2 separate regions of the Homo sapiens genome follow, and region 1 is linked to region 2. The links are contacts of gene promoters, found by promoter capture Hi-C in human tissues and cell types (Jung and others, 2019). All regions are on one chromosome and are shown on one strand. The core of a region is centred on a gene start or on the middle of the fragment in contact, and the rest is flanking DNA. Distances in the headings are between cores, read along the strand shown. Region 1 has its middle 16 kb from the start of DHRS4-AS1. Region 2 holds the start of CIDEB (cell death inducing DFFA like effector b).

The links. Contacts are between HindIII fragments. The study calls those that stand out against the background at their distance.
Region 1: a fragment that was not itself captured here is called in contact with the fragment with the promoter of CIDEB in region 2 in 1 of the 25 tissues and cell types used here (small bowel).

The regions. Positions count from the first base shown.
Region 1 is chr14:23,970,262-23,972,961 of GRCh38, forward strand. It overlaps a transcript of DHRS4L2 not described here. Among named protein-coding and RNA genes, the nearest start is that of DHRS4-AS1, 16 kb to the left of the region's middle. The HindIII fragment of the contact is 4,031 bases long and covers 1-2,700 here.
Region 2 is chr14:24,306,209-24,309,921 of GRCh38, forward strand. It overlaps CIDEB (cell death inducing DFFA like effector b), which reads right to left and starts at 1,769. Exons shown (of 5, transcript NM_001393339.1): 1 at 1,610-1,769; 2 at 1,163-1,307; 3 at 166-315. The coding sequence starts at 1,650. It overlaps NOP9 (NOP9 nucleolar protein), which reads left to right. Exons shown (of 10, transcript NM_174913.3): 10 at 1-2,916. The HindIII fragment of the contact is 10,071 bases long and covers 1,261-3,713 here.

The DNA.
Region 1 (2,700 bases), core at 201-2,700, 340 kb before region 2:
GGCAGCCCCTGCATCTCAGTCCTGACATCGCTGTCCCTGGAGCATCCTCCGCTGGAGCTGGAGCTTGACAGGTAGGGTGGAGAGGGCGGTGGGGGGCGGGGGGCCGAAACTGCATCAGTTAACGGGGCCGTGGGGGAGGGAAGTCCTCCATTGCTAAGGCTTCAGTAGGCGTTCTATGATCACAGTGTAAACAAAGCTGCAGGGAAGCTCTAACTGGGCGGAACCCACCGCAGCTCAGCAAGGCCTACTGCCTCTCCAGATTCCACCTCAGGGGCCAGGGCATATCTGAACAAAAGGCAGCGGACAGCTTCTGCAGACTTCAGTGTCCTTGCCTGACATCTCTAAAGACAGCAGTGGTTCTCCCAGCACGGAGTTCGTGCTCCGATAACGGACAGACTGCCTCCCCGAGTGGGTCCCTGACCCCCATGTAGCTTGACTGAAAAACACCGACCAGTAGGGGCGGAGAGACACCTCATACAGGTGGGTGCCCCTGTGGAACAAAGCTTCCAGAAGAAGGATCAGGCAGCAATATTTGCTGTTCTGCAGCCTCCTCTACTGATACCCAAGAAAATAAGGTCTGGAATGGACTTCCAGCAAACCCCCAAAGACCTGCAGCTGAGGGGCCTGTTAGAAGGAAAACTAACAAACAGAAAGGAATAGCATCAACATCAGCAAAGGACAGCATCAACATCAGAATAGCAAAGGACATCCACACTAAAACCCCATCCATAGGTCACCAACATCAAAGACCAAAGGTAGATAAAACCACAAAGATGGAGAGAAACCAGAGCAGAAATGCTGAAACTTCCAGAAACCAGAACGTCTCTTCTCTTCCAAAGGAATACAAGTCCTCACCAGCAAGGGAACAAAACTGGATGGAGAATAAGTTTGATAACTTGACAGAAGTTAAGCTTCAGAAGGTCAGTAATAACAAACTACTCCCAGCTAAAGGAACATGTTCTAACCCATTACAAGGAAGCTAAAAACCTTCAAAAAAAGGTTAAACGAATGGCTAACTAGAATGAAGAATGTAGAGAAGAGCTTAAATGACCTGATGGAGCTGATAACCACAGTACAAGAACTTCATGAAGGATACACAAGCTTCAATAGCTGATTCAATCAAGTGGAAGAAAGGATATCAGTGATTGAAGATAAAATTAATGAAATAAAGTGAGAAGACAAGATTAGAGACAAAAAAATAAAAAAGAAACATTCAAATTCAGGAAATACAGAGAACATCACAAAGATACTCCTTGAGAAGAGCAACCCCAAGACACATAATTGTCAGACTCAGCAAGGTTAAGGGCAGCCAGAGAGAAAGGTTGGGTGACCAACAAAGGGAAGCCCATCAGACTAACAGCAGATCTCTCAGCAGAAACCATACAAACCAGAAAAGAGTTGGGACCAATATTCAACATTCTGAAAGAAAAGATTTTTGAAACTAGAATTTCATATCCAGCCAAACTAAGCTTCGTATGTGAATGAGAAATAAAATCCTTTGCAGACAAGGAGATGCTGAGAGATTTTGTCACCACCAGGCCTGCCTTACAATAAGAGCTCCTGAAGGAAGCACTAAACATGGAAAGGAACAACGGGTACCAGCCACTGCAAAAACATACGAAATTGTAAAGACCATTGATGCTATGAAGAAACTGCATCAATTAATGGGCAAAATAACCAGCTAACGTCATGACAGGATCAAATTCACATATAACAATACTAACCTTCAATGTAAATGGGATAAATGCCCCAATTAAAAGACACAGACTGGCAAATTGGATAAAGAATCAAGACCCATATGGTGTGCTGTATTCAGGAGACCCATCTCACATGCAAAGACACACATAGGCCCAAAATGAAGGTATGTCTGGAATTGGTGGGTTCTTGGTCTCACTGACTTCAAGAATGAAGCTGCGGACCCTCGCGGTGAGTGTTACAGTTCTTAAAGGCAGCGTGTCTGGAGTTTGTTCCTTCTGATGTTCAGACATGTTCAGAGTTTCTTCCTTCTGGTGGGTTCGTGGTCTTGCTGGCTTCAGGAGTGAAGCTGCGGACCTTCGCAGTGAGTGTTACAGCTCTTAAGGCAGCATGTCTGGAGTTGTTCGTTCCTCCTGTCTGGAGTTGTTCATTCCTCCTGGTGGGTTCGTGGCCTCACTGGCCTCAGGAGTGAAGCTGCAGACCTTCACGGTGAGTGTTACAGCTCATAAAGGCAGTGTGGACCCAAAGAGTGAGCAGCAGCAAGATTTATTGCAAAGAGTGAAAGAACAAAGCTTCCACAGTGTGGAAGGGGACCCAAGCGGGTTGCTACTGCTTGAAGGGGTGGCTTGCCCCTCCACACCTGTGGGTATTTCTAGTCAGGTGGGACAAGAGACTGAGAAAGAGAAATAAGACACAGAGACAAAGTATAGAGAAACAACAGTGAGTCCAGGGGACCGGCGCTCAGCATACCAAGGACCTGCACCGGCACCGGTCTCTGAATTCCCTCAGTTTTTATTGATTATTATCGTCATTATTTCAGTAAAAAGGAATGTAGTAGGAGGGCAGGGTGATAATAAGGAGAAGGTCAGCAACAAACGTGAGCAATAGAATCTACATCATAATTCAGTTCAAGGGAAGGTACTATGACTGGACGTGCACGTAAGCCAGATTTATGTTTCTCTCCACCCAAACATGTCGGTGGAGTAAAGAATAACAAGGCAGCAT
Region 2 (3,713 bases), core at 519-3,018:
GTCAGACCCTCCCTCGCTTGGACTTTCTGTCCACTGTGTGACATCCTTGACAATTCCACAACTCCTCCTGCACCTGGTCCCCAGGATCAGGGTTAAGCTAGAGAGGAAGCCCGGGAAAGCTCTAAAGGACAGGCATTGGAAGCAGCCCCAGTATAGGCCTCTTACCCTTGTAGGGCTCCAGCTCTGACCAGACTGCAACACCATCAGGCACGTGTCATCCTCCAGCAGCTGGAAGAAGTCCTCACTGTCCACTGCAGTTCCATCCTCCTCTAGCACCAGGGTTAGCACTCCATTCAGCAGTAGGGTCTCCAATGCCTGCCCAATGGCAAGAAGCAAGAAGGGCAGGTCTTATCCCATGCCCCTTCCCTCTTTAGCTGCCCAACATCCATCAGTTGGCTCTAGACATTGGTCGATGTCCCACTTTGACTTTCCGGCACTTTGATACCTCCTAAAGGTTGCAGCTCTCCGTGTTCTTCAGTTTTTGGGGGATCCTAGCTAGAGGCTGACCTTTTTCCTCTTTGCTCCTACCATGTCATTGGCATCTCCCCTTGCTCCCCTCCAAGTCACTTCTGGTTTGGAATTGGAAAGCAAGCCAGGTTCTCACGAAGTCCACCCTTCTGTCTTATCTACAATGCTGCACCTCACTTCCCACACCCTCAAGAGTTCTCCAGAAGTGTTTTCAGTAATAGTGTTTAACCTTTTTGAGTCCTTACTCTGTGCCAGGTATGAGGACTTTACCTACATTATCCTCTTACTCCTTTCAACAACCCTAGGAGGTGATGTATTATTATTGCCTTTTTATAGTTGAAGAAACTGAGGTTTTGGTAGGTTGAACAACTTCCCAAGGTTTGACAGGCAGGAAGTGGCAGAATCAGAATTTGAACTTGATTTGTCACACAAATCACCTTTCCATACTAGCTTCTGAATTCTGTCCCTCGAACTCTCCCTATCTCCTGCTAACCCCTGCTCCCATAGAAAAGCTCACTCGGTGGAAAATGAACAAATTGACCAGAGCTCATTAGGCCCACTCCGCTGCTTTTAGCCCTCAGAGGGAGGGGCAGCTGTGTGACTTCAGCCCTCTGCTCCATCATCACAAGTTGCCACTGTTGTGGAGCCCCTTGGCTACCCCTGCTATAGGAACCGAGGAACTTGGCCTACTTACTTTGGCTAGCAGCTCCTGGCGGGTGGCAGCTGTCAGGCCTTTCCGGATGGTCCGCTTGTGATCACAGACACGGAAAGGTCGCTGGGGTGGTGGAGCTGAGGTCCAGACCCTCCGTCCAAACTCCGAGCTTATATTAGATACTGACCTGGTAGTTGAGAAGAAAAGTCAAGAAGGGGCGAGGAGGGGCTTGGTGAGTGTAAAGGGCATGATGAGGGTAGAGTGGCTAGAGGGCTAGGGAGGGAGAGATCTAGGTTTATCGATTAGGGATGAGGGAGAGACCATGGAGTGCAGGTGGGGGCGGGTGGCTCAGGAGCTTGACAAGCCCACTGTGGAGTGGGGAGCAGGAGAGGAAGGGGTACTGGTTAGTCTCCTAGGGGCTGAGTGGAGTATTGTTGCCCTGCCTATATCCCCTAAAGGTGGAGGGTAGAGCGGAGGGTTAGCAGTCACCTGAGTAAGTCACTGGGGTTCAGAGCTGAGAGGTACTCCATGGTGGACCGGAGAGTTCCTTCCCTGGAACTTCTGGGCTGGGTGGTTCTCTCCTGTGCTGGGGCTTTAGTGGTGTTTTCTGTTACAAACCTGGGATCTCAGCCCAGGACAAGGTGGGAATGAGTCAAGCCTGGACTCTGGCCCCCCTGCCTGGCCAGTAAGAAGGGCAAAGTCCAAGGGGAGGGATGAGGGAGGGGCCAGATGGGGTCCTGGAGGAAGAATTGCCTGGCAAAAGCCATTGGAGCTTGTATGTGTGTCTTTGGTGATGACATGTGTTGTGAGGGTAGATGGGAACCATGTAAAAGGATGAAATGTGACTTCTGGTGTTTTTTTATTTCTATGGAGGGAATTTCTGGGGACGGTTTCTGGCTCTCAGGCTCTGAGAAGCTGCAGTTTATGAGTGGCTCTGTGTGTGCTGCCACCTACTGGAGAAGCCATAAGCTGCAGCTTTAGGAAAAGGGAACCCGGGGCAGAGTGTGGGGAAGTGGGATGGCAGCATGGCAGGGCTTTGGAAAATGAGAGGTGAGACTGTGTCCAGGAAGGGTGTAAGGAGAGGATGGATCCTGATACATGGATTCAGGATCATTAGGGTCCTGTCTGGGACACTGGCCTTCCTGCTTACCTGCTCTTTCCTTCCTCCTTGGTCGGAGGAGGGGCTGGCTCACTGCTCTGGCTTCATTTTCCAGAGCTGCCTGCTGCAGTCACACTTAGGTCATCTTCTCTCACTTTTCTCCTTTTGCCGATTAGTGGACGTGACAGAGATGTGAATGGGGCAGGGATGTCCTTTGATGGCATCAAGACTTTAGCTTCTGGTGCGCTGTGTCCCAGCTCTGATTTCAGTTGCAGCCGTGATGGACAGTTGCATGGAAGCTGAGACTCTCACTGACAGTGAAACCCTCAAATGAACACAATCCCTGCTTTCCTGCCAAGGATCCTTGTAGGGTCCCCCAGCTTCCCCACTTTTTTTCTGTGTCCTGACAAAGAAACACAGAGTAACTTGATTGCCCTGTGACCTGGCCAGTTGCATTTCCCCTGCAGGCTTGAGCCCAAGCCAGAGCCTTGAAAAGGTATTCAGGTTGTTGCCCAAAACACTGAAAAAAACTGGCCCTGGCCCTGAACCAAATACCTTGAACCCTCGTAAACTCCATACCCTGACCCCCTTGTTTTGGATATACCCAGGTAGAACAACTCTCTCTCACTGTCTGTTGTGAGGATACGCTGTAGCCCACTCATTAAGTACATTCTCCTAATAAATGCTTTGGACTGATCACCCTGCCAGTCTTTTGTCTTGGGCAATCTATACTTTTCTCAGAGGTTCCCAAGGCCTACTGAAGGGACTTAACATACTCTTAATGGCTTTCCTCTCTCTTGTTTTACCTTATGCCCTCACTTCCTGAGTTAACCTCCCAAATACAGGATCACCTGTACCCAAGCCCTTAGCTCAAGAATACAGGATCACCTGTACCCAAGCCCTTAGCTCAAGCTCTGCTTTGGAAGAACCCAAACTAAGACAGTGCTCCTGGTGCCCTCCCCAAGCAACCTCAAGTTCTGGCTGTTACTTGAGCAGAGGCCTTTCTTTTCCCTTCCCCCAGCTCTATCCATCTGCCAGGCCCCCCTCAAATCTCTTCATTTCCAAGTTTTGCTTGACTTTTCCAAGAGGAGAGGGCTGCTTCTTAGTATGTCCCTACTCATCCTTTCCTTTCTTGTCTTGTATCCTGGTGCAGCCTGGTAATGGGGCCTCTTCATGGTTGTGTGTCATGACTCCCTAACCATTATGCCTCCATGCATCCCCTGTTCCTCCTGGAACCTAGCACCATGCCTTACATGGAAAAGCTGTCATTGACAGCCCGGTGAGAGCCCTGAGGGTGGAGTGACTGGGGCAGGGCCTGAGGCAAGAGGTGGGAGGAGGTAGGAGGCCAGGGGCTCAGCCGGACCAGGAGACTGGAAACAGGCAAGGATAAGGCAGGTGGGGGACTGAGTTGTTTGGGTCACCTCTGCAGGCCAGAGAGACCAGGCAACATACACACTGCAGAAGGTGGGCTGGGAGGATTGGGGCCAGAGCTGG